3 separate regions of the Homo sapiens genome follow, and regions 2 and 3 are each linked to region 1. Evidence: promoter capture Hi-C in 16 types of primary human blood cells and fetal thymus (Javierre and others, 2016). All regions are on one chromosome and are shown on one strand. Each heading gives the region's core, a stretch centred on a gene start or on the middle of the fragment in contact. The rest is flanking DNA. Distances are from core to core; before and after follow the strand shown.

Region 1 (4,032 bases), core at 617-3,116:
TCAGTATTTCATACAATTTTAAAACTTTAATACTTTTTTATCTCCAATGCAATATAAAAATAGTACTCACTTTGGATAGGAAATCAACTAGAACTAGACTGTTGACATCCAGCAACAAAGCATAGCCCAACATAAGAAATACAGATTTGCAACACTTCGATATGTGCTTTGAACATTGATATGCCAAGTAGCAATAGAAATAATTATCTCTTTGGATGGAAAATGTTAATGACTAATCATTTCTTAAACTAGACTGGATACTTTTCCATATAGGGACTATGCTATTCCACGTTCTCCAACATGGATCCATCCATTTACTTCTTGCCTTCCAAGGTACCACCCTATCCCAATCCACCATCACTCCTTGCCTGGAGTATTTCAATAGCTTTTTTTTTTTTTTTTTTGAGACAGAGTCTCGCTCTGTCGCCCAGGCTGGAGTGCAGCGGAGCGATCTCGGCTCACTGCAAGCCCCGCCACCCGGGTTCACGCCAGCCTCCTGCCTCAGCCTCCCAAGTAGCTGGACTACAGGCGCCCGCCACCACGCCCAGCTAATTTTTTGTATTTTTAGTAGAGACAGGGTTTCACCGTGTTAGCCAGGATGGTCTCGATCTCCTGGCCTCGTGATCCGCCCGCCTCGGCCTCCCAAAGTGGTGGGATTACAGGAGTGAGCCACCGCCTCCGGCCTTCAATAGCTTAACAGGTCACCAAGCTTCCACACTATTCCCACACAGCCTCTCCCCTCTTGCCACCGGCTGTGACCTCAGACTGAAATGCTCTTCCCTGGCCCCTCCTTATCCTTCAAATCTTGGCTTAAAAGCCTTTTCTCAGTTTCATTGACCAGGCTATCTAACATTTACGATTCCCCCAGCATATCATCCATTTTATTCTTCTTTACGGACTCATTTCTGGCTCGTAGTAAATGTTCAATAACGGTTAAGTGAACTGAATCTCTAATTTCTGGTCGTTAATTTGTAGAGACCACTTTCCCGGATTTAAAAAGTGCAGGTGCTCTGGCAGCCTTAAGTCGGTGAAAACAAGAATATTCCGCAAAACAAAAATAACTTGTTTATTCATCAAAAACAGTTAACGTTACACTTCTATACCGTCAATTCGTGTGTGAACAGAGTTGTGTCTGATCCAAGACCTTACAGTTCAAGCACTGGATCCCAATAACCTGTAAACAACGTTTTGTTATTTGCAATGCAATCCTGGGCTAACTTTTCAAAAGTCGTTTTTCTCAATTTCCCGTTAGTTAAAGGAATAAAAAAATGCTGTCCAACGTGGTCAATGGACCAAACAAACAAGGACAACAAACAGAAGCGTGAGCCATTGCTAACACAACAGCGACCAAACAATCATGCACTGTATCAGGCGTGTAAAAATCTGGGGGGAAAGGCTTAGTCTTAAGGCCTAAGTCATCGGACACTGGTCCTCTCCCGGGGAATAAAACGGCCTCCTCCTCTGAGAGGGAAATGTCCTGAATTTTCCCTGCAGAGGGAAGGTCACCTGCAAGCCTACATTCGTGACAGCGTTCCCGAGGACCCCCTGATCCTCATCTTCTTTTCTGCTTCATCAGACCAGAGACCGTGGCTAAAAGCCCCCCATCTGCCGGCTCTCAGGGGCTTCCGAGGCGGCGGGGCGGGAGGCGGCGCCCAGTCAAGGACAACAGAAGACTACGTCGCGTGGGCCAAAGGAAACAGTCCCGTCAATAAATAAGCCTCTGGCCGACGCACCTCACCCTTCCCATCCATACAAGACCTCACCTTCTCCCCGGAGCCGCGGAGGCTGTTCTGCTAAACTGTCTGGACCACGACGACCCCCTAGGAGGCCGGGTCGCTTATTCAATATGGCGGCCTCGGCTAACTCTGTCAGCCGGGCCTGGAGAACGGAAAGCCCGGAGGGACTAGAATCCTTGCATTCGACAAGTTTGTCGGCAATTTCCGTCAGCCGACCAGAGGGCGGAGCTGAGGTCGGCCCAGCCCGGAGGCGGGAAGGACAACTTGGACCCGCAGTTCCGCCGGAAGTGGCCCCAGCCTCGAGGCCGGGCGTCTTCGGTCATCTCCGGCGCTTCTAGGGCTGGTTCCCGTCATCTTCGGGAGCCGTGGAGGTACGAACTTAAGACATGCCTATTTTATTAATTTACTTCCAAACGCAACGAAAGGTCCATGGACAATTTGTGGGCCATTTAATTCAGGGCCCCCAATTCGTACGTGGAGAAGTGGGAATGCAAAAGTACTTTGACCTTTAACCTTCGGTCCGGCGCGGTGGAGGGAAACGCCTCCGTCTCTATATAAGGAATTTTCCGGTCTCTTCGGGTCCTTTTTCCTCTCTTCAGCGTGGGGCGCCCACAATTTGCGCGCTCTCTTTCTGCTGCTCCCCAGCTCTCGGATACAGCCGACACCATGGGTTTCGGAGACCTGAAAAGCCCTGCCGGCCTCCAGGTGCTCAACGATTACCTGGCGGACAAGAGCTACATCGAGGGGTGAGCGGACGGGCTGAGTCGGGGTGGCGGGGAGGTTTCTCCGCCCGGGGCCGGGGCCACGTGGCGCAGCGTGTCGGCTGCCGCGGGAGGGAGGGAGGCCGGGCCCGGGGCCCTTTCGAGAGGGAGGGGAAAGCGCCCCGTTGCCGTCTCCCAAGGCCCTCGTGTGGGGCGAGCCCGGCCTCCGGGGAGCGGTTCACGAGCAAGGAAAGGTTAAAATGTGCTTTATTTACACTTAATTCAGCCAGGTGTTTCCGCATCGCTGCCCAGTTAATACATGTTAAGCTGTAGATAGAGCAACGCCAGACATTGCAGTATTTGAGGTCTACTTAGTGGCAGACATTTCTCAGGATAGCGCGGTGACCCAAACATATGGTTTGATTTGAAGGAGCTAATAAGAAAAGAAAAGCATTAAAGCAACCCTGCTGGGGTTAGTGCCCACTAATTAATGTGATGCATACGGTATTTATTATTTATTCGCTGGCGTTTGTTTTTCAAAGGTGTGTGTGAATGTTTCTGTGTCCTTGGCAGGTATGTGCCATCACAAGCAGATGTGGCAGTATTTGAAGCCGTGTCCAGCCCACCGCCTGCCGACTTGTGTCATGCCCTACGTTGGTATAATCACATCAAGTCTTACGAAAAGGAAAAGGCCAGGTAAAATCATCTTTGTATAGAGCTGAAGAATAAGACTGCTCTCGAAGTTTATCAGGATGTTCACATGACAAAACTGGACCCAGGCTACTTTAGTTTTGTTGGGATATTGTAAGCTAAATTTTTCTGTAACCTTAGAAGGCCAAGAGACTGAAGCCCTCCATTTTTTCACAGAACAGGTAGAACATGGACAGCAGCAATTCAACTTTTCCCCACACTGCCCTGCCAATGTGCCTCGACCTTGACCTGGGGGGCCCACCTCTGGGGTGAGAGGGTGGCTCATTCATTCAGTCCTTGGCCATTCTTCTGAAACTGCCAACAAGGGTGGAAGTTTGGGGAAGTGGACTCCAGTTCACTAAGAATGGAACTGAGCATACTTAATGAAATCTCAAACAGAAATGTTCATACTGAAAGAGTAAATCATAGTGAGTATTGAAAATAATGTCTCACATGGTACTAATGCTTGTCGGGTGAGGAGTTGAACATATGACAGTGTTTACCTGGGCGCATGTGAAAGGGTAAATTATGATTGCAAAAGGGATCTAGTGATAAGTAGTGATTAAAACAAGTTATTTTGTATTTTCTGGAAAAGGATGTTATACTAGCTCAATAGTGGTTGAATTTAAATGTTTTTCAAGCCTGCCAGGAGTGAAGAAAGCTTTGGGCAAATATGGTCCTGCCGATGTGGAAGACACTACAGGAAGTGGAGCTACAGATAGTAAAGATGATGATGACATTGACCTCTTTGGATCTGATGATGAGGAGGTATGGCGTCTTCTATAAAGAACATATCGGCCAGGCGCAGTGGCTCATGCCTGTAATCCCAGCATGTTGGGAGGCTGAGGCGGGTGGATCACGAGGTCAGGAGTTGAAGACCAGCCTGGCCAAGATGGTGAAACCCT
Region 2 (4,042 bases), core at 825-3,324, 5.0 Mb before region 1:
TTACTCTGTCTCCCAGGCTAGAGTGCACTGGCATAATCTAGGCTCACTGCAACCTCCGCCTCCCGGGTTCAAGCAATTCTCTGCCTTAGCCTCCTGAGTAGCTGGGATTACAGGCGCCCGCCATCACACCCAGTTAATTTTTTGTATTTTTAGTAGAGATGGGGTTTCACTATCTGGGCCAGGCTGGTCTTGAACTCCTGACCTCGTGATCCACCCGCCTCAGCCTCCCAAAGTGCTGGGATTACAGGCATAAGCCATTGCGCCGGGCCACAAATTTTTTTTTAAAGAATTAGCTGGGCATGGTGGCACCTGTAGTGGCACACCTAGCATGGTGGCATGCTAGGACCTGTAGTCCTAGCTACTCAGGAGGCTGAGGCAGAAGGATCACTTGAACCTGGGAGGTTAAGGCTGCAGTGAGCTGTGATCGGGTCACTGCACTCCAGCCTGGAGTGAGACCCTGTCTCAAAAACAAACAAAAAACCAAACTTGGATAACTGACAGAGTTTAGGATAGAATTACATGGAAAAACCAACAAAACAAGACAATTATTAACTCCAGAAAAAACTAAAAGTTGTGTGGGAAAGGAAAAGTAATCATAGTTTGGTACATAACTTGGCTGTGACTACCGTTTACATGATTATAATAGCATATATACTGAAGATTAATCAAACAGAATATAACTATCTTGGGAAGATGGAGAGATTAAAAAAAAAGGTTGGGGGTGAATATGGGGTGAAAGTGATGGAGAAAAAGAGCTGAAGTCTCCTCTGGTGTCTCAGCACTCCACCCAAGGTAGAGCCTCTGGATGGAAGAAGGAATCTCCCACCTCTCCACCACACTCCCCCAGGATTTACCTTCAGCATCAGGTAGCTAGGGGCAAGATGAGAAATGCTGATATGCTGGTCTCTGACTGGGAGCTGTGGGAAGAGAGAGGTTCTGAGTTGCAGCAGTCTGGAGTGGAGTCTCTTGCTGAACAAAGGGAGAGGTTTGGTTTAAATACCACAGACTGACTCTCACATTCTGATCCAAGAGTTTTCATAGATTTTTTGGAACAGATGTTTCTTCATTTGCTGTTTGCCCTTAGGACCATTTCAAAGGCTTTAAATGGTTAATGGTTGTTTGTTGTTTTAAATAATTTTCAGTTTCACTAGGGGTGAATCCCGAGCTCTTCATGCCGTCCTGCTGTTAGTCTCTCTTGGTATTATTCTTCACCTTTCCTGTGAGTTTAAAATTATCTCAAGAAAAGTTAAAGCTCTTTAAGAATCACAATAAAGTAGTTATTAGGAATAAATAAAAACGTAGAGGGGCGCGGTGGCTCACGCCTGTGATCCCAGCACTTTGGGAGGCCGAGGCGGGCAAGGATCACTTGAGGCCAGCAGTTGGAGACCAGCCTTGCCAACATGGTGAAACCCCATCTCTACTAAAAATACAAAAAAAAAAAAAAATTAGTCGGGCATGGTGGCTTGCACCTGTGGTCCCCGCTACTTGGGAGGCTGAGGGCTGGATGGTTTGAGAGCGGGAAATCCAGGCTGCAGTGAGCTGTGATGGCGCCACTGCCTTCTAGCCTGGGCGACAGCGCGAGACCCTGTCTCAAGAAGGAAAACAAAAAAAAACAAACAAAAACATACACACAAAAAACCACAAAGTGTGTTCACGTTTGCTATGACTCCCAGACAACAATTGTAAACACTCGCGCCGGGCGTGGTGGCTCACGCCTGTAATCCCAGCACTTTGGGAGGCCGAGGCGGGCGGATCACGAGGTCAAGAGTTCGAGACCATTCTGGCCAACAGTGAAACCCCGTCTCTACTAAACACAAAAATTAGGCGGGCGTGCTGGCGCGTGCCTGTAGTCCCAGCTACTCGGGAGGCTGAGGCAAGAGAATCGCTTGAACTAGGAAGGCGGAGGTTGCAGTGAGCTGAAATTGCGCCACTGCACTCCAGCCTGGGCCACAGAGCGAGACTCTGTCTCAAAAAAGAAGGAAAGAAAGAAAGAAAAAAAAAAACACTCGCAGTGTTTACTCCTAACGCGTGGAACTTGTGTCGACATCCACCCCCGGTTACTGCATACTCAGTCACACAAGCCATAGCAGGAAACAGCGAGCTTGCAGCCTCACCGACGAGTCTCAACTAAAAGGGACTCCCGGAGCTAGGGGTGGGGACTCGGCCTCACACAGTGAGTGCCGGCTATTGGACTTTTGTCCAGTGACAGCTGAGACAACAAGGACCACGGGAGGAGGTGTAGGAGAGAAGCGCCGCGAACAGCGATCGCCCAGCACCAAGTCCGCTTCCAGGCTTTCGGTTTCTTTGCCTCCATCTTGGGTGCGCCTTCCCGGCGTCTAGGGGAGCGAAGGCTGAGGTGGCAGCGGCAGGAGAGTCCGGCCGCGACAGGACGGTACGTGCCCCGCGCTCGACCCCCGCGCTGGCGGCGCCGGAGCTGTCCCAGACCCCAAGCCCCGACGCCCGGCCCTGAGTCAGCATTGCAGCAGGCCCTGCGCCGCCGCGCCCCGCGTCCCACCCCGCGCCGCTCCTCACAGCCCTGCGCTCCGGGAAACTGCAGGTGGCCGGCAGTGGCCAGGGGATGGCGGGGGCGCTTCTGGAACCTGACTCAGTTTTGTAGGTTCCTTATCTCGGTTGTTTACCGCGGGCTTTGCGGAATGCCCCCGCTTCCGTTTCCGCCCGGCTCCGAACCCCCGAACCCCTTCTACCCGCAACTCCGCCCCGGATTCCCAGAAAGGGGCGACCTGGGCCACAGCGGTACAAGCTGCACCCCGATGGACCTGAGAGACCGGAAGTAACCCTTGGCCAACTCTGGCCGCCCCCTGCAGCCGCAGCCCCAGAGGCCCACCCGCGAGCTTCAGTGGCGGGCCCTCAGCGTCGTGTAAACTTTGCTTAAAATGATCTTGAGAGTTCAATTCTTGGGGTGAACTGTTGAGAAGATCTGGCATTTTTCCTTTCGAAAGTTGTTGGGAACGTGGACTTTCCCAACAATTGTGTATGCGCTCGATCTCACTCAGTGGGAGCCGCCGCCCTGGAGGGAATTTCACAATAGCCTGGTCAGGGCGGTTATTTTCCAGAGCAGTTTAATGTCTATTTTGCCCAAGTGCAAGGAAAGCTTGCCTTGGGAAAGCTGGGAATGCTTGGCTAATGAAAAGTTTTTAGAGCCTTTTAAAATGAACCTGTTTCTGCCACTTTTCCACCGCCTCAAAACGACTGGGAAATGTAAACTGGCTTCAAGATGTTCTTGCTTGAGGGTGTCTGGATTTGGACAGAAGGCCATGTTCTTTTAATATTAACAGTGGCACGCAGTAGAACAAAGGCCACTGAAATTCAGAATCAGTTTTTGGCTCCACGGGCAGGAAGTAAATTCAAGGACGCCAGAGGTCTTGCGAATATTTTAATTGGTTGACATTTGAAATTTGTTCTTAAGCAATGAGGGGTGAAACCAGTAGGGGGATAGCGTATAGCATAAGTAAAGCTTTTTGGACATCAACAAACTGCGATAATCTACAACAGACAGCGGGCTCTGGAAGGTTTGACCTGCTTTAGAGAGAGATTTCCGATAAGAGGAACGGAGTTTTTGGCACTTTTCGGTTTGGTGATTCCCCTAAATAACCTTACAAAAGTTTCGTTGAACAAAAAACCTGGCTGGAGCTCCAAGATCTTTTTTTTTTTTTTTTTTTTTTGAGACAGCATTTCACTCTTGTTGCCCAGGCTGGAATGCAATGGCACTATCTCTGCTCACCGCAACCTCCGCCTGTCGGGTTCAAGCGATTCTCGTGCCTCAGCCTCTCAAGTAGCTGAGATTACAGGCATGCACCACCATGCCCGGCTAGTTTTGTATTTTTAATAGAGACGGGGTTTCTCCATGTTGGTCAGTCTGGTCTCGAACTCCTGACCTTAGGTGATCCGCCCGCCTCGGCATCCCAAAGTGCTGGGATTACAGGCGTGAGCCACCATGCCCGGCCCAACTCCAAGATCTAAACAAAAAAGACTGGGTTGAAAGGGAGTTTTTAATGTTTACTGTTTGCTTTACATCCATTTT
Region 3 (3,776 bases), core at 625-3,124, 5.4 Mb before region 1:
GCGTCCTTAGTAACATTTCTTTTTTTTTTTTTTTGAGACGGAGTCTCACTCTGTCGCCCAGACTGGAGTGCAGTGGCGGGATCTCGGCTCACTGCAAGCTCTGCCTCCCGGGTTCACACCATTCTCCTGCCTCAGCCTCCTGAGTAGCTGGGACTACAGGCGCCCGCCACCACGCCCGGTTAATTTGTATTTTTAGTAGAGACGGGGTTTCACCGTGTTAGCCAGGATGGTCTCGATCTCCTGACCTCGTGATCCGCCCGCCTCGGCCTCCCAAAGTGCTGGGATTACAGGCGTGAGCCACCACGTCCGGCCTCTTAGTAACATTTCTTAATCTTCAGTTCTGCAGTAATATTCTAGGAGATATGAACTATTAATAATAAGCAGTAAACAGTTTTTTCTAAACAATCCTATAGCTAACATACCACATGCCATTACACTGTTCTCTTGTTGGTTTTTATTTTGCTTCGTTTTAATGAATGTCTTGAATGCTATATAACTTAGAATGCACATATTTAAATCACCCCAAATATCACTTATTTGGCAACTCACTTCAAACTATATTCTGAACAAGCACTTTACAGGAGCAAAGAGTTTTCACCTTAACCTGTCATTATTCTGATGTTAAGAGGGGAGAGAGAGAAACAGAAAATGCATGTATGCCAAATTTCTTGAATCCCTAAGCTTCCCAATTATTTCGGCCTATTCAAAAATCGAGTCCAGGTGTGGTGGCTCACGCCTATAAATCCCAACATTTTGAGAGGCAGAGGTGGGAGGATTGCTAAAGCCCATGAGTTGGAGGTCATTCTGGGCAACATAACCAGATCCTGTCTCTATTAAAAAAAAAAAAAAAACTAAAATCTAAATAATAGAGTGTGTTTGCTAAAAGAGGGTATTTATTTAACAAATATTACTAAAATGTTAATGTAACTAAGCAATGCTTTTTATCTTGATTATGTCAAATATTATTAATAATTATAACTATTAAAATAATTCTATGAAGAAGTAAAAGAAATGGTATATATGAGATATGTAGCAAGTGAATGATATTTAACACATTTTTTACCTAAAATGAAATTATTTAAAAGCTCATTGTACCTCAAAGCTTTTTCACTGTAAAAATTTTGTGGAGCCTATGAAAATACTTCTGGCCACACATACATACATAAATATATGCATACATATATAGGTGTGTGTAACTAGAAGTATTTCATATACATATGCTACAATATTTAAGCCAGGTTCATAGGATGTTCTATAAGCTTCTACAAGACTCAAAGCATAGGAATAAATACTTCCCCCAGCTCATTTTCCAAGGGCAACAATGTGCTTTTCAAAACAGGCCCTTGATATTCTTCTAGTTGTTAGGAATAAAAACCTATTGTCACTTGCTTTTAAAAAAGAAACACTTAGGTATCCATTCCCATCAATGAAGTTAAAAGCAGTAGCACATTCACATGTTGCACTTAGCACCTTTCTTTTTAAGTAGTTCAAAATTTTTAAATCCAAAAGTACTAAGGGGGATTCACAGCAATGGCAGAGTGAAGAAATCAGCATATCCTTTTTCCCAAAACAACCATAAAACTGGGCAAGGCTAGGCGTGATGATTCACACCTATAATCTCAGCACTTTGGGAGGCTGAGGCGGGAGGCTCACCTAAGGCCAGGAGTTTGAGACCAGCCTGGGCCACAAAGCAAAACCCCATCATCACCAAAAAAAAAAAAAAAAAATTAGCAGACTCAGTGGCTCATGCCTGTAGCCCAATTACAAAGAAGGAATGTGTTCACATCCATGACTAAGAAAGGCTTATGGGAAAAAAGCAGTAGTTGAGATAAGGCTTGAAACAATAGTGGGATTTTGACAGTGGAAAATGAGGGAAGGACATCTCAAGAAAGGTCAAGACAAGATGTGTCCTGTCTGACCAAAGCATAGAGTTCAATTGTTTGGAACCTTTTCCTACCATAATACAATTCACAAACAACGTTTCCCCTGCTAGCTGCACGGTGCCTATTCCCATGGGTGCACCCAAAAGCAGAGAAAAGATAAGTGGCAAGGTGTGGTCTGTAATCCCAACACTTCAGGAGGCCAAGGTGGGAGGATTATTTGAGGCCAGGAGTTCAGGAAAACCTTTAATCCACTTTACATTTTAAAGAAAATAATCTGCTTACTTTAATATCATTTTTAGTCAAAAATCATTTGCTACATACCCCACAATGATGGTAATAACAGGTTAAGAACCACAAATGTGATGGGAAGTAAAGGTGAAAAACATTGGTCAGAGCTATCCCTGAGTATAAACAGAGGCATTTAAACAGTGAAGAGAAATGATTCAGCTTGCAGTTGAGAAGATTGCTCTGGAAATGTTGAGAAAGGGGATAGTACAGTTAGGAAGTTATTGCAAAAGTCCCATTTAGTTAGGGGTAATAGATGCCTAAATCAAGATGGTACTGGGGAAAGATGATACAATTTTAAAACGTGGCAAAAATAGAAGATAAGCTTTGTGAGGCCATAGGCGTAACATGTCACTATCTCTACTGGTCTCTAGCTGAATAAATATTTGTTGAATGAATAAATAAGATCTTGGTGGTAAGGCGGTGCATTATAATGGTGAAGCCAGACTGCTTGGGTTCAACTGGACCTCTTCCACTTACTAGCGCTATGATCTTAGACAAGTTACCTGACCTCGATGCCTCGGCTTTTCCATCTGTAAAATGGGACTAATAATAGTGTCTAGATTACAGGGTAGTTTTCAGGATGAAATGGGGTTACTACATAAAGTGCATAGAAGAGGGCCTGATACATATAGGGACATATTAGTTATCATTTTTATTTGTGAAACGTTGTCCTTTAACAGAACTTCAGATGTGAAAAATACAGTTCTGGGGGAAGAGCAATTGACAGCACTGACAGTGTTAAATTAGCCATGAAGTGAAGATGCCAGATAGTGTGGACTGGGGCCTTGGGAGAAAGGAAGGGGCTAGACACTTAGAGATCAGACTCCAGCCACTTCCCTCTGCTCCCCACAGCCCTCCCAATCACACTAGCTTCTTGCAGTTCCTCCAACAGATGCAGTTTGTTTCCTGCCTCCTTCCCACTGCTGTTGCCTCAACTTGGAAGGGCATAGAGCCTGGATTTAACAAATATTTGCTTAATGATTCAGTAGATGATCTTGGAACTCTTTTAAGTGGAGTAAATGTTAAATCCTTGAGAATGTATGAGACTGCCATAGAAGAAAGTATCCAGAAAGAAAAGGTATCAGTACAGAAAAGAAGAGTCAGAAAATACCGTGCAAAGGCACATTCAGAACGTAACCAGGATAGCTGGAGCCAGGATTCAAGGAGAGAGGTAGGTAACATTCAATGCTCAGAGGAGGCAAACAGGGTGAAGAATAAAACACTGGGTTTGGCAATAATTTCAGGAACGAACGCTGAGAAAGTCATTTTTCCATGAAGTTGCGGGGGGGTGGGGTAGAGGTCAGATAGTTAATTAGGGAAAAGAAGTCAACAAACTATTTTATCAAAAGGTTTAGGGAAGAGAAGCCACTCTCCTCCTACCAGAGAGTGAGGAAGCAACTGGAGAGAAGTAAACTACTGTACAGTGAATAAAAACATGGGGCTACATCCTAGAGGCGCTGTGCATCTTTATCTGCACAGAGTTTTGTCACGTCCACAGTGCTTTTCACACGCACTATCTAATCTGATCGTACCCCAGCTCCCTGATGATATAGCCTCTAACTGAGGGGTTCTCAAGGTGCGGACCAGCAGCAGCATCACAGATAA

The links. Contacts are between HindIII fragments. The CHiCAGO score rates a contact against its expected background, and 5 or more counts as called.
Region 2: a contact is called between the fragment with the promoter of CFLAR here and the fragment with the promoter of NDUFS1 in region 1, in 1 of 17 cell types (fetal thymus). The highest score is 5.2, in fetal thymus.
Region 3: a fragment that was not itself captured here is called in contact with the fragment with the promoter of NDUFS1 in region 1 in 2 of 17 cell types (non-activated CD4 T cells and monocytes); the score reaches 10.7 in non-activated CD4 T cells.

Annotation. Positions count from the first base shown.
Region 1 is chr2:206,157,578-206,161,609 of GRCh38, forward strand. It overlaps NDUFS1 (NADH:ubiquinone oxidoreductase core subunit S1), which reads right to left and starts at 1,867. Exons shown (of 19, transcript NM_005006.7): 1 at 1,764-1,867. It overlaps EEF1B2 (eukaryotic translation elongation factor 1 beta 2), which reads left to right and starts at 2,318. Exons shown (of 6, transcript NM_001959.4): 1 at 2,318-2,482; 2 at 3,011-3,133; 3 at 3,769-3,895. The coding sequence starts at 2,403. RefSeq lists enhancers at 1,545-1,954, 2,065-2,324 and a silencer at 2,585-2,654. The HindIII fragment of the contact is 3,079 bases long and covers 708-3,786 here.
Region 2 is chr2:201,114,090-201,118,131 of GRCh38, forward strand. CFLAR (CASP8 and FADD like apoptosis regulator) reads left to right here and starts at 2,075. Exons shown (of 10, transcript NM_003879.7): 1 at 2,075-2,392. LOC105373836 (a long non-coding RNA gene) reads right to left here and starts at 2,595. Exons shown (of 3, transcript XR_923785.3): 1 at 855-2,595. RefSeq lists enhancers at 2,061-2,320, 3,961-4,010 and a silencer at 2,351-2,560. The HindIII fragment of the contact is 6,122 bases long and covers 1-3,110 here.
Region 3 is chr2:200,807,356-200,811,131 of GRCh38, forward strand. The region is part of intron 1 of BZW1-AS1 (BZW1 antisense RNA 1); the gene reads right to left. Among named protein-coding and RNA genes, the nearest start is that of BZW1, 2.7 kb to the right of the region's middle. RefSeq lists an enhancer at 3,769-3,776. The HindIII fragment of the contact is 1,234 bases long and covers 1,258-2,491 here.